Regions from separate parts of the Homo sapiens genome. Here region 1 is linked to region 2. Evidence: promoter capture Hi-C in 16 types of primary human blood cells and fetal thymus (Javierre and others, 2016). All regions are on one chromosome and are shown on one strand. Each heading gives the region's core, a stretch centred on a gene start or on the middle of the fragment in contact. The rest is flanking DNA. Distances are from core to core; before and after follow the strand shown.

Region 1 (7,795 bases), core at 5,213-7,712, 420 kb before region 2:
TTTTTACATCCCAATTTTAACAGCAGTTTGTTTTATTTTAAATAACTTTTGTTCATCACACATTTAGTGAAGAATATAATAAGAAAACATAAAATAAATGCCTCCTATTCATCCCTTGTTAACTGCTGTTAACATTTCACAAAGAAAAGGACAAGGACAATGAATTGAACAAAGGAGAGAAAAAAAAGTGGGCCATAGGGAATGTACAGTAAATAGGGAGTAAAGAAGCAGATATATAAACAGAATTATTAAGGCCAGGTGCAGTGGCTCACGCCTGTAATCCCAGCACTTTGGGAGGTCGAGGTGGATGGATCACCTGAGGTTAGGAGTTCAAGACCAGCCTGGCCAACGTGGTGAAATCTCATCTCTACTGAACATATAAAAATTAGCTGGGTGGGGTGGCACACACCTGTAATCCCAGCTACTCAGGAGGCTGAGGTGGGAGGATTTTTTTGAACCTGGGAGGCAGAGGTTGCAGTGAGCCAAGATCATACCACTGTACTCCAGCCTGGGCAACAGAGTGAGACTCCATCCTTAAAAAAAAAAAAAAAAGAAAGAAAGAAACAGAATTTTTTTTTTTTTTTTTGAGATGGAGTCTCGCTCTGTCACCCATCCTGGAGTGCAGTGGCACAATCTCAACTCACTGCAAGCTCCGCCTCCTGGGTTCACGCCATTCTCCTGCCGCAGCCTCCCGAGTAGCTGGGACTACAGGCGCCCGCCACCACGCCCAGCTATTTTTTTTTTTTATTTTTAGTAGAGACGGGGTTTCACCGTGTTAGCCAGGATGGTCTCGATCTCCTGACCTCGTGTTCCACCCACCTCGGCCTCCCAAAGTGCTGGGATTACAGGTGTGAGCCACCACACCCGGCCAGAAACAGAATTATTAAAGAATTCTCTATGTGGAAACTTTAAGAGCAACTGGTATGTAAAAGTTTTAAGATCTGGAAAGCTGGCCGGGCATGGTGGATCACGCCTGTAATCTCAGCACTTTGGGAGGCCGAGGCAGGTGGATCACGAGGTCAAGAGATCGAGACCATCCTGACCAACATGGTGAAACCCCATCTCGACTAAAAATACAAAAAATTAGCTGGGTGTGGTGGCGCACGCCTGTAGTCCCAGCTACTTAGGAGGCTGAGGCAGGAGAATCACTTGAACCCAGGAGGCAGAGGTTGCAGTGAGCCAAAACCACACCACTGCACTCTAGCCTGGCAAGAGTGAGACTCCATCTCCAAAAAAAAAAAAAAAGATCTGGAAAGCTCTGGTGGTGTATCTCATTTTAAAGCAAAGCATAATCTAAGACTGATAAGAAAAAAACAATAATGACATCTTTGCTGGTGTGACAGATGCCTCTAGTTATTAGATACTCTTAAGAGTTTTCTTAGGGGTCTAACTTGAGAGCAGAAGACAGTTAATTTCTTTCTCACATCCTTCATTCCTCAGCATACAGGGAATTCCTTGAAGATTTCTTTTGATAACTGGCTGTGTCATTCTAAAAGAAAAAAATACATAAAAAATTCAGTGCAGTTTTCTCACATCTGAGCTCTGATATTAAACCTTAAAGTTGTTGTAGGATTTATATGAACCAGAATTCTCTAATTGTGTATTTTGAATTATTACTTTAATGCTATAACAACACATGCTCACATTCCTATGTACTGTCAAAGGTTTAATGAATTTAGTGGTTTTTCTTCTAAAACCAGGTTTGACTTAATATGACTCCCACATTTATTGTATTAACAATAGTTTACTTCTTAGACATGAGTGGAAGTGCAAAGTAAAGTGCTTTACTAAAGTCAAAAATCAGCTGGGCATGGTGGCTCACACTTGTAGTCCCAACACTTTGGGAGGCCAAGGCGGACAGATTGCTTGAGCTTAGGAGTTCGAGACCAGCCTGGGCAACATGGCAAAACCCCATCTCTAGAAAAAGTATAAAAATTAGCTGGGTGTGGCAGTGCATGACTGTGGTCCCAGCTACTTGGGATGCTGAGGCAAGAGGATTGCCTGAGCCCAGGAGGTCGAGCCTGCAGTGAGCCAAGACTGTGCCACTGCACTCCAGCCTGGGCAACAGAGTAAAACCCTGTCTCAAAAAAAAAGTAAAAAATCTTGAGACAATAGTATATCTTACTTTATAGCCTACGGTTATTATATTACTTCTAAGATTTTAGTCAAAATTAAAGTATCAAAAAAGGTCTGAAATGGAAAGATATAGTCTATAGGGAAAGAAAGAAGCCCAAATTTTAAAATATGTTAGGATGATTGATAGGAGAGAATTTAAATCTGGTGAAACTTTAAAAAAGACTTCTCTGTTGCCTTCTTTATGTTCTTGACTGAAGCGATGTTTTCAGAGAGCTGAAAATATTCCATTCTTTTCCAGATTGCAAAAGTTGAGAAGCTCAAACCATTAGAGGTAGAGCTGCGACGCCTAGAAGACCTTTCAGAATCTATTGTTAATGATTTTGCCTACATGAAGAAGAGAGAAGAGGAGATGCGTGATACCAACGGTGAGGGGGAAGGCGACTCTTACTTCTTAAGTGACCCATAAATGAGACAGTCTCCAAACTTTCAATTCTGGTGTACCCTTTTCTCAGTTTTGCCAAGGTGGGTATATGGAGGGGAAATTGCTTGCTTCGCTGTTGTTGCTGCTAAAGGTAAATGAGCCTTGTTAGATTTTCAAGAGAGTAGAAACTCCTACTGTGATAGGCAGGTGACAACATCCTCAATTAGTCTATACCCACATCAAACTGATAGCACCAATCTTTGTAATTTTCAACATTTATATATAGGATAATGAACTTTTATTTTTATTTATTTACTTATTTTTGAGATGGAGTCTCGCTCTGTCGCTCAGGCTGGAGTACGGTGGTGCGATCTCGGCTCACTGCAACCTCCGCCTCCTGGGTTCAAGCAATTCTCCTGCCTCAGCCTCCCAAGTAGCTGGGACTATAGGCACAAGCCACCATGCCTGGCTAATTTTTCGTATTTTTAATAGAGACAGAGTTAGCCAGGATGGTCTCGATCTCCTGACTTCATGATCTGCCTGCCTCAGCCTCCCAGAGTGCTGGGATTACAGGCTGGGATTACACCATGCCCAGCCAGGATAATGAACTTAAAAAGAAAAATTATCTGAAATCCTACTGTTAGACCTAGGGACAGAGTGAAGTTAATTAATTGCCTTTACCCACCTCCCCTGCCATTGTTTAGCCAGCTGAGGAGGCTCACTTCATTATGTTTACAATGCTTTTGTTTTTTTTTAGAGTCAACAAACACTCGGGTCCTATACTTCAGCATCTTTTCAATGTTCTGTCTCATTGGACTAGCTACCTGGCAGGTCTTCTACCTGCGACGCTTCTTCAAGGCCAAGAAATTGATTGAGTAATGAATGAGGCATATTCTCCTCCCACCTTGTACCTCAGCCAGCAGAACATCGCTGGGACGTGCCTGGCCTAAGGCATCCTACCAACAGCACCATCAAGGCACGTTGGAGCTTTCTTGCCAGAACTGATCTCTTTTGGTGTGGGAGGACATGGGGTACCACCTACACCCAACAAGTCAATGAGGGACTTCTTTTTAATTTGGTAGGATTTTGACTGGTTTTGCAACAATAGGTCTATTATTAGAGTCACCTATGACAAAAAATAGGGGTTACCTAGATAATGCCAAAGTCAGCATTTGTCCTGGGTTCCCTTGTGTGATCTGTTTGGACTATGTTTTCTTTTCTTCTCCCACTTGCTCAGCAGCTTGGGCTTCCATTCTAGTTCTTTTACCAAGATTTTTGTGTGACCATGTTGACTTCATTTGGATTGCCCTCTTTCAATTTCCTTGTGAAAACACCCTTAACTTTCTCTTTACCCTTAGCTGAAATGTTTACATAGCTTCTGGTGATATCTTTTCATGATTTTATATCTCTTAAAATGGTGATGGATGTGACACCTCATAAAAGTGAGCTTTGAACTGTAGATAACTCTTAAAGAAAATGTCATTTTAGACAATTAAAATATTTGTGCTCAACTGCTTGAACTTTTTTCGTGTATGTGTATTTAATTCTATGCAATATTATCACATGTGTAGATTCATGTGACCACCATCACAAGAGACAGAACAGTTCTGTCACATGGATCCCTTGCACTGCCCTTTTACAGCCGCAGCCACATCCCTTTCTTATACCCTCACCCCAACCTGTGGCTACCACTGTTCTGTCCTCCATCTCTGTAATTTTGTCATTTCAAGAATGTTGTATGAATGGAATCATACAGAATGTAATCTTACGAGGCTGATCTTTTTTCATTCAGCATAATTCCCTTGAAATCCATCCAAGTTGTTGCATGTATGAATAGTTTCTTCCTTTTTTTCTTTTAAAAATGTTTTATATATTTAGGGGGTATAAGTACAGATTTCTTACATGCATATATTGCATCGTGGTGAAGTGGGGGCAGTTCCTTTTGATTGCTGAGTAGTATTCCATGGTATGGATGTACCACAGTTTGCTTAACCATTCACCCACTAAAGGACATAAGAGTTGTTTTCAGTTTTTTGCCCTAATAAAGCTGCTGTGAACATTCATGTACAGGTTTTTATGTGAACATACATTTTCATTTTCTGGGATAAATGCTCAAAAGGGCAACTGTTGGGTTGTATGGTAAACACATATATTTTTGTAAGAAACTACCCTACTCTTTTTCCAGAGTGGCTCTACTTTTTACATACAGCCACTCATACAATTCAGACAGCAATGTATGATTGATCCAGTTTCTTCACATCCTCACCAGCATTTGGTATTACTACTATTTTTTATCTTAACCATTCACATAGATGTGTGTAATGATACCACATGTGGTTTTAATTTGCATTTCCAATGGCTAATGATGTTGAGTATCTTTTTGTGTGCTAATTTGCCATCTATGTATCCTCTTCGGTGAAATGTCTTCATGTCTTTTGTCTATTTTCTATTTAGGTCATTTGTTCTTTTTACTATTGAGTTTTGAGAGGTTTTTTATATATCCTAGATAAAATTCCTCTGTTAGATATGTGGTTGCTTGAATTTTTAACATAACTTCTACCAAGGAAAAATAAGTAAAATTTCCAACCCTTGCATGGCCAGTCACTTACTTAATTCCTGTCCTTCAGTGTTCCATCTAGAGAATTAAGAGATATGATGTATAAAATAGACATCGAGGGCCATTAAGAGAGTAAATACTTAAAAATACATGTTATGAAAGCAAAGCCAATAATCACTGTAGGAGTATGAGTTGCCTAAGGGCCAAAACTAATGTAAATAAGAGAAAGTGTGGATATAAATGACCATTGTTTATAAACAGTTATGAAAAATGCTGTGACTTGAAATCTTTCCCACATCTCCCAAGAAAGTAGGTAGGAGTTTATCCTTTCCGTAATCTCTTTTTAACCCTGCTGACTATTACAGGGCTTGTTTAATCACAGTGGCAAGAATTACATGTATCTTACAGTAAAGAAACAGAATACTGGAATCGTTAGAGAACCCTGATGTGTTGACCTGGATAAAGTACAAAGGTGGAAGAGGGAATGAGTTATGCTGTTAAAATCTCAGGCTATTCTGTTAATGTTCCTGCTACTATGAACCCAAACTTTTTTTTTCCCCCTTTTGACTCCTTGTGTCTTCCTCTCCTGTGGCATAAAAGTAGTTCTGTCGTTAACTTGTACAACATTGCCATCTGCTGTTGAGAATTGGTAGGTACTGCTTCTGAGAACCTGGCTGCAGATCCTTAGCATAGGCAGCAAATGTTGAGAAAGTCTATCTGTAGTATTACATATACTAAGTTACAGAGGATGCATCCAAGTAGAGAAAATAATATGTGGGTTAAGATACATCCTTAAACTTTTTTTTTTTTGGGGGGGGGGGGACGGAGTCTTGCTGCAACGCCCAGGCTGGAGTGCAATGGCACTATCTCAGCTCGCTGCAACCTTCACCTCCTGGGTTCAAGCAATTCTCCTGCCTCAGCCTCCTGAGTAGCTGGGAATATAGGTGCACACCACCATGCCTGGCTAATTTTTGTATTTTCAGTAGAAGCAGAGTTTCACCATATTGGCCAGGTTGGTCTCGAACTCCTGACCTCAAGTGATCTGCCTGCCTCAGCCTCCCAAAGTGCTGGGATTACACGCGTGAGCCACCACACCCAGCCTCCATCTTTAAACTTTTAAATGTGAAATTTCTATCATGTACCGTTAGCCTAACAAGATTTTCTTTCCTATTTCTGACTGGTGCCTTTCCCCTTTTTAGGAGCAACGAAAGCTACTCTCTTAGTTATGTTCTTGTGATGTGACAAAATGTCAAGAAGATAGGAGAAGAGAATATTTTATTTCGTTGATGCTTTTGTTCCCAAGTGTGACCCTAAACTTAAGCTTTGTAGGAGTTGACATTCTTTCATGTCCCTTCCCTTTACTCATGCCGAAACTATCAACTGGGACATTTTGTGCTTTTGGTTTAAAAGTTAATTGATATTATACTTTGGTTTTATCTAAAAAGTAAATGTATTTGCCTTTGACAAAAGACTGACACAAGAGCAAATAAGCTTTAAAATCGGGTGTTATGTGCTTTCCTCCATTTTTGAGCATATTATCCAAAATGGTCTGTATAATATAAATGAGAATGATGCAGTTTAAGTAAGCCTTGTTATACCATTGTCATGGACCCCTGTCATAAAGCCATTTCTTGGTTTGTTTGGGAAAGAGGCATATGGGATTTATACAGATTCACTTGTAAATGTTGGATTGGGGATTTTTGTGTAAATTTTCTCAAATAAAGGCTAGCAGAAACCATTTTAGGTGTACTGTTACTCTTGAGTACTTCTATGTCTGGATTGGTGATAATTCTTCCATATTTCTCTTTTAAATTATGGCAAATTATACCTGATGAATTAGAGAAAAAATATTGTTATTCTTCAGTTACTGCAGATCGATAGTTTATATGAGCTAGTAAAAGATTATCATATTTTGTATGTAATATATGTAAATTATATATATATATATAATTAAGAATCCTTAATTATGCATCCTCAGACCAAATATGGTTCTGTAAGCTAGGCATTTTATTCTCTTTATCTTCTCTCTTTTGGAAACTGTTACTATTAGGTTCGCACAAAAGTAATTGTGGTTTTTGCAATTAAAATTGCAATTGCATAGAATCACTCCTACAGAGAGCCATCTCCCCTGCCTTTCATTCCTAAAAGACCCCCACCCCCCACCCCCGGTATATGAATCCTCAGGACTCACTTTTTAGGCCTATCATATCCAATGCAAAACCCCACTCCAGGAGGTAAACGTCTTTTCTCCTCTCCTTTCACTTACAGTTGAACATTTTTCACAAAGCGACTTTCCAAGAGCCAATATGAAGTGCTTTGCACACCCACTGGCTGGCCTCTTATTTATCCTCTTATCTCCATTCTCCCTCAAATAAATTTTATTATGAATCCATAGTGTGTAAAGTAGTGGTTCCCATTATTGGGGTATAATTTTTTTTTCTTTTCTTTTTTTTTTTTTTTGAGACGGAGTTCACTCTTGTTGCCCAGGCTGGAGTACAATGGCATGATCTCGGCTCACCACAACCTCCGCCTTCCGGGTTCAAGCAATTCTCCTGCCTCAGCCTCCCGAGTAGCTGGGATTACAGGCATGTACCAGCACGCCCAGCTAATTTTGTATTTTTAGTAGAGATGGAGTTTCATTATGTTGGCCAGGCTGGTCTTGAACTCCCAACCTCGTGATCCACCCACCTCAGCCTCCCAAAGTGCTGGGATTACAGGCGTGAGCCACCGTGCCCGGCCCA
Region 2 (7,395 bases), core at 1,209-3,708:
GATTATATACTACAGCAGGACCTGTATCACATCTAGCCCAAGTTGTCTGGGTTGAATATGACAGTGATTCCAAATGCTAGGCCATGGATCAGTATCTACCTGTGATAATATGTCCATTACCAATCCAGGGAAAAATTAGAAAAATAAGGAAAATGTGGTAAAGTTTTCATAAAGTTAAATGTACTTACTTAAAAGGAATGAAATACCTTTATATCTTTATATAAAGGTCATATCTTTATATAAATATCTTTATTCTGAAAATATATTTTAAATATTTTTTGGTGATACAGTCTCTCTTTTATGAACTGCTGGTGTGTTAAACAATGGCACTTATGTCTCTTAAAAGATCCCTGGCAAAGAAAAAGTTAATAATCCTAGATAATATCTCCAGGATTTTAGGGGAAATTTTACTGCTCCATAAAATCCCAAAACCTTCAAACCACTAGAATTGATATATGCTCATCGATATGACTTTCATCTACATAGTTGTGCTAGACTTACTAACAAATAAGTTAGCAAACCAGCTCAGGGAAAGCCTGGATTTCTAAGAGGTCTATGGTTTTAAAGGAAAACTTCAAACGTTTGATTACTCACACTTCTCTTTCCTTTAATGCGCTGGGATCCTTCTTTTCTTTCTTTTTAGGTTTTAATCTATCCTTTTCTTTACTAGGAAGAAAAAGGTAAATTAAATCCAAGGGAGAAGAAAAACCACAGCAATTAAAATCTCAAAAATCTAAAGTTCCATTTTTTTTTTTTTTTGGTCTACTGAAGAAATCCTACTTTGTGATATCCTCATGTTAATATCAGCATACTCTTTCTGAGCAAATAACTCTAGTGCAAAGCACAGTACCTGGAAGTATCAGAATTAACCAGTAATGCCAATAATGCATAAGAATTGTTAATGAGTAAATAAAAGCTGATTATACTATATTTATTTTTTAGTCAGAATCTCTCACATCAAGGATCACAATCCACTTCCAAGCAATGGGTAAAAGGGTGACAGTTATCTTCTGAAGATTCAGATGCTTTAACTTTTGGGGGAAAAGTATTACCCCATATGCTTCTTATAAAGGGCTAAAATGTAAAAACGCATATACAGAACTTAACCCTTAACTAGAAAGAAATTATTATTAATGGAGTGTCATTCCTAAAAATTACACAATACATCCACACTAAAGGCTGAGAATAATAATTCTGAAGGTTTTAACGACTATTCTCTTATTCTGAGACTCTTTTTTGTATTTTTAGTGGAGACAGGGTTTCACCGTGTTGGCCAGGCTGGTTTTGAACTCCTCACCTCAGGTGATCCACCCGCCTCAGCCTCCCAAAGTGCTGGGATTACAGGCGTGAGCCACTGCGCCCGGCTTTCTGAGACTCTTAAACTCAGTGAAGATCAGTCTTTATTTAATAGCTATGCTTATTCTACACTTAAGCAGGGACACCGCTTTGATCCTCTTCATACTAGGGAATTTCACTTCACTTTCTTCTTCCACAGTGATTTGGATTCTTATATTAGTAAGACTTATAAAATGGAGATATCTTGGAGTTTTCCCATTTTCTCTGACAAAAATATTTGAGTACCAGGCACTGGAAACGCCAGACAAACAAGGTCTCTAACCTTGCCATCTTTCAACAAGAAACACTCCCCTCGCCCCACCCCAGGGGAATGTAGTAGTGTAATGGTAAAAACATAAAGAGAACTATACGGACTTCACCGAACTGACATGAGGTTTAAATGCGATATGGCAGACAAAGCATATAACGGTAGAAAAAGTGAACACTTAAGAAATGTTTAATTCCCATCGCCTTTCCCAGTGTGATCGCTCAGCAGCTAAATTACTGTTAAACACTGGCTATCTCATGCTATATAAATCTAAGACACGATAATAAGCAAAAAACAAAATAATAACAACAAACATTTTTACTACTTATCCTCTCTAGACTCTTATTAGAATATCCCTGGGCAGTTGATTCCAGACACTCACAGCCTCTGATCTCTGAGACTAAGCATTCGCTTCATGGTCGCATACTTCCTTGTTTTCTTTTGCTTCCCCTTGAAACAGAAATTTTAGAATTAAAAAAGTTGGAAACACACGGCATCTTTTAAAGTCTCTTCTTTTCTCTTGTCTATTGCCTTCCCTTCTTGCCTCAAATAACCCAGACCCTCTTCCCCACTCTGTAAAGCATAACAGTCACCGCTTGGAGAAGTTTAAGAGCTAAGACCAGAATGAAAATATGCTAGGATAATGTGAAGGAAATTTGGCCACGGTCTGACTACCTCCTTCTCCACCCAAAAAGTGGCCTGATAACGTCCCTTCTTGGACCGTCTTCTCTCACCATGGTCACGCCAAACTCCTGGTTCTTCCGTAATCACCAACGGCGCAATACTTCTACGTCATTCACATACTGCTTCCGGCAAAGGATAGCCCGGAAGCGGAAACTCCTTGGGGAAAGGGCAATCCCCCGAGCCGGTTCCCAGGCCGGGTGGAGACCAACTCTGGGGTCTGTTGGTGGGAGAGTGGGGAGCCCGTCTTCTGCTGAGTGCTGCCGCCCCTTCCCAGGACAGCGGAGGTGGAACTTCGTCGCGCTGCAACCCCCGGCTCGGGTAACGTTTCTCTCCAGCCTTAGGCAGAGCCCAGAAGACCTGCCTTTACCAGAGTTCCAGAGAGAGAGGGAGGAAAAGGGTAGGGGGGTTCAGACTCCTGGTTTGCCCAGTAGTTTGGGGGAACACATTCTCCTCACCCTGTAGCGTTGGGGTATCCGGTGTCTATGGTCCAGCCCTGAGGCTGTGGTTCCTATTTGGTTTTCCTAGCCGATATGGTGCTTTGTGCAGCTAGGTGGATGATTGTTCTCGAGTATATACCGTGTACTCCTCTCGGTGAAGAGAGAAATGAAGCAGTGTTTGAGGGCCTAGACTATCGCTAGAGAATTGGGGCATAAGCTTGCATATGTTACTACTTACCCAAGCCAAGAAAATGGTGAGATACAATGCACATTTATTGTGAAGCCTTGGTGTGTCATCTTTAAGTAAAAAGGGAGAATTTGTGAGAACAAGGAGCGAAAGGTAGCTTTTTTCTTTGAGTACCTGCTATGTATTCCAGTGGTTCTTAACTTTTTGGAGATAACTTATTTCTTGAAAGTTTGTGGAAAGCCAGGAACAATTCTTTAAAAAATGGGCACACATACAGTTTGTAATACACTTAATGAGATTGGTGGACTCTGAAGCCCATCCGTGGACCCTCTGGGTGTCTGTAAACTTTAAATGAAAACCCCCATCCTGTATACTGTACTTGTCACTTTATTCATATTACCTTCTTTGACCTTCTCAATAACATAAATTCTTTTATTTTACATATGGGGAAATTGAGCCCCAGACTTTGTTCAGGGGTCTGTTTGAGTCTCGTGATTCCAAAGTCTGTACTTGTATTTCTTTTTTTCTTTTTCTTTCTTTCTTTCTTTCTTTTTTTTTCTTTTTTTTTTTTTTTTTTTTTTTTTTTTTGCACTTTGTCTTCCATTCTCCAGCTACTGATCAAGCTGGGAACGGAATGGGTACCTCTGTCATACTTTTCTTATTGCATGATGCTATCCTAGAGTTGGAAGTAAAATATGTTATCAGGTTTAAAAAAGAAGGTGACCATTGTATAACCCTTATGATGAAAACACGTTTATTGTTTAACACGAACTTTGGAGTCTGACTGATGGGGTTAAAATCCTTGCTCTGCCTTATAACTCGCCATGACATTGGGTGAGTTAATCTATCTGCATCTCAGTTTCTTTATCTGTAAAATGGAGATAATCATAGTAGCACTCTTTTATTGGGATGTTATCAGGACTTATGTTTATTCATAGTTAACATGCGAGGTCCCTAGAAGAGTGTAAACCAGACTACTCAGAGTGTTTTCTGTTGTTACCATTGTGTGTCTTCCAACTTGAGGATGTGTGGCAGGGTTGGAATTTTATGCCAATTTTATTTTATTTTATTTTATTTTATTTTTGAGACAGAGCCTCCCTCTGCTGCCCAGGTTGGAGTGCAGTGGCGCAATCTCGGCTCACAGCAACCTCCCCCTCCCAGGTTCAAGCAATTCTCCTGCCTCAGCCTCCCGAGTAGCTGGGACTGCAGGCATGTGTGTGCCACCATACCTTGCTAATTTTTGTATTTTTAATAGAGATGGGTTTCACCATGTTGGCAAGGCTGGTCTCAAACTCCTGACCTCAGGTGATCTGCCCACCTCGGCCTCCCAAAGTTCTGGGATTACAGACGTGAGCCACTGTGCCAAGCCCCAATTTTTTTTTTTTTTTTTTGAGACGGAGTTAGTTTCGCTCTTGTTACCCAGGCTGGAGTGCAATGGCGCAATCTCGGCTCACTGCAACCTCCACCTCCCAGGTTTAAGCGATTCTCCTGCCTCAGCCTCCTGAGTAGCTGGGATTACAGGCGTGCGCCAACACGCCTGGCTGATTTTATATTTTTAGTAGAGACGGGGTTTCTCCATGTTGGTCAGACTGGTCTTGAACTCCCGACCTCAGGTGATCCGCCCACCTTGGCCTCCCAAAGTGCTGGGATTACAGGCGTGAGCCACCGTGCCTGGCACCAGCCCAATTTTATTTTAACATAGTTGCACTGGAACTTGAACGTGTTCATAAACCTCAAAACATTAAGTTTTCAGGTCCTGGGATGCTCAATCGCAGGGTGATTTCTTCTGTTGATTTGGGTGTAAACTTTTTCTGCTTCTCCTTTCTCTTTCAGGCACACATTCATTTAGATGGCTTAATAGTTTACATATCTGTGGGCACTGAATTTTTGATGTAGAAATGGTAGCTACAGATACTGTATGTGCCTTCTGCTTTACCCCATTTGTGGTCACTAGAAGTTCCTAATCTTTCTGGAGCAGCTTGTCTCTGTCAAGCTGCCATTCATGTGTAGAGCTAATAGCAACCAGTTTTTTGATGTATCTCTTGGTGATTAGACAATAAGCTTTTTATTGTCTAAAAGCTAAAATAACATGGTCAGTTATTCTTCTTAAACATTTGACTCATTAGTATTATATATAGGTTCAGAGGGAAAATTGCATATCATTAAATAGTAATTTGCATTTAAATTTAGGCACTGACAGAAAAACGCTCTTCTGGTAATGTGTACTTTGAATTTTGGAATCCATGAACAACAACAACTTAAAAAAAGGCCATTTGTAATTTCTATTGTAACCTCTATTGAGAGTGTTCTGATTTCCTTGATTGTTAATACCTAATAGGGAGCTAAATTAGTGTAGGAACACCATGGGGGATAAGAACATACTTAGAAAAATTTGTTTTTGTTGCATTGTAATTTTATTGCAATCTGAGGTTCTTATAGCGTGAAATGAAAGTGGTCAGATACTCTACAGCATTCTTTGATGGGGATGGAAAGTGGGGGATGCGAAGCTGGGAGGTAGTGTTGATTTGTGATGGATGGGAGCAGAAAGTAATTGCTTTTGGGCACATACTTGTGAGGAAAAGAAATGATTTTAGTCCTTCTCAGCAGTCAAGAGGGTTGTTTTGCATTTTTCTGCAGTCTTGAAGAGAAAAAATCACCCAAGGCATTGGACACACAGTTTGAACACATAATTGGGCTTGGACTTCATTCCATTCACTAATTGGTCTAACTTACTAATTTAAGTTGGTATCAAATTTCTTTGTAAAATTATTCTGGATAATGAAAGACTCCTTAAAGAACATCTTGTATTTCAATGTTAGAAAGTTATAAGTAGATTCACTTTTTTGTCCATTTTCAAGTTATAGTTTTTACATTTATTTTTCTGACTTACATGATAGGACTTTTTTTCTCCCAACAAACATTAGTCGCTGTTAATTATTTTTCAATTAACTTGCCTGCCCCTAAATGTGGTAGCATGGCATACAGCATGTTCTGCTTCTGAGGTCTTGATATTGAATTGGTTTGTAAGAATACCTCAGAGATAGATTACTGCCGCTTGGTCATTCATTCAGAAAGCATTTATTGAGGGCCCATTCTGTCCTGGGCAATCTCACCACAGTCCTGTATTACAGAAAGACTTGTAAATAGGTAAAGTATGGTTGGTGGCTGAATAGAGATGTGGGAGTTGAAATATTTTAGAGGAATTACTCTTCTTGTTCATCTTTCTGTAAGTGGTCCAGGTCAGAGTACTGTTGTGTAATATTTATTTAATACTATCAACATATTAGTACCATGTAATAGATCAGATTTTATGACCTTAATGGACTCTAGTGTATCATTTTACCTTTTATTTATTATTTATTAGATCTTGCTATGTTGCCCAGGCTGATCTTGAACTCCTGGCCTCAAGCCATCCTCCCACCTCAGCTTCCTGAGTAGCTGGGAGAAGAGGCATGAGCCACTGTGCCTGACCGTTTTACCTTTTAAATGACTTTAGCTATTAACTAACTTGGGTTTAAATTTCAGTTATTTTTCTTTGGTTTCTTTTTCTTTGAAGGGTTCTGAATGCTTAGCCTTCACTAATGTTCTTTCATATAGTAGTTTTCAAACTTTTGAGGTTGTTTAACCTTATTGCAGTTTGTGTGTATGTATGTGTGTGTACACACACGCATGCCTGAGCTGTTGATATGGTGTTACAGCACCATAGTGATGTTTTCCTGGTGGCTCTTTTGAAGACTGTTCTACAAGATAGGGTTTATAGAGAAAGATGGGTATTCACTTAGCTATTAGAAACTAAATAGTCATGGTAGATACATGTTTTGTCATTTAGTCTAATTGAACGGTTCCATATGATTTTATGAGTTTTTGTTATCTTGAATAGTTGAGCAATTTGCATCATGTTTTTCAGAGCGAAGGCATTTATTTCAGTGCAGCTTGTTACTGTTGAGATGCCAATAGTTAACATCTGTTAATTGATTTTCTATATATTGTACTTTTTGGCCAGAGATTAGATAATTTATTAATATACAACATATTTTCTGTAATGTCCCCTTGCTTTTATCCAGAGACCCAGAGCATGTTATTTTAACCCCTCTCTTGTCCGCTTTGGGAAGTTCAAATTCAAGGTACCCCCGGTATATATGGTAAACCTATTAGGAACAGAAAACAGTTAAAACTTCCCAAGTGTGATCTAGTTTTTCATGTCTTGGTAAAGAAGAAATCCCAGGTGGGCTGTGCAAACAGTTCATAGAAAGGGGTTAAAAAAGATATTTAAAAAGTTTTAGGCTGGCATTACCTGAATTGGGGCAATGATTAGGGAGACATGATTAGAATTCTAAGGGGGAGTGAGAATGTAAAGGGGAGCACCATCTGTAATTAAATTGTTTTAAATTGTGGAATAATTTTAAATTTATAAAAAAGTTGCAAAGATAGTACAGAGTATTCCTGTATACCTTTCACCGGTGTCTCCTAATGTTAACTTCTTA

The links. Contacts are between HindIII fragments. The CHiCAGO score rates a contact against its expected background, and 5 or more counts as called.
Region 1: a contact is called between a fragment that was not itself captured here and the fragment with the promoter of AREL1 in region 2, in 1 of 17 cell types (fetal thymus). The highest score is 5.6, in fetal thymus.

Annotation. Positions count from the first base shown.
Region 1 is chr14:75,130,466-75,138,260 of GRCh38, reverse strand. It overlaps TMED10 (transmembrane p24 trafficking protein 10), which reads left to right. Exons shown (of 5, transcript NM_006827.6): 4 at 2,375-2,501; 5 at 3,255-6,792. The coding sequence ends at 3,376. Among named protein-coding and RNA genes, the nearest start is that of NEK9, 7.3 kb to the right of the region's middle. The HindIII fragment of the contact is 170 bases long and covers 6,378-6,547 here.
Region 2 is chr14:74,708,143-74,715,537 of GRCh38, reverse strand. It overlaps AREL1 (apoptosis resistant E3 ubiquitin protein ligase 1), which reads left to right and starts at 2,458. Exons shown (of 20, transcript NM_001039479.2): 1 at 2,458-2,605. It overlaps FCF1 (FCF1 rRNA-processing protein), which reads right to left and starts at 2,394. Exons shown (of 8, transcript NM_015962.5): 1 at 2,338-2,394; 2 at 1,986-2,053; 3 at 595-666. The coding sequence starts at 2,340. RefSeq lists an enhancer at 2,281-2,560. The HindIII fragment of the contact is 16,377 bases long and covers 1-2,943 here.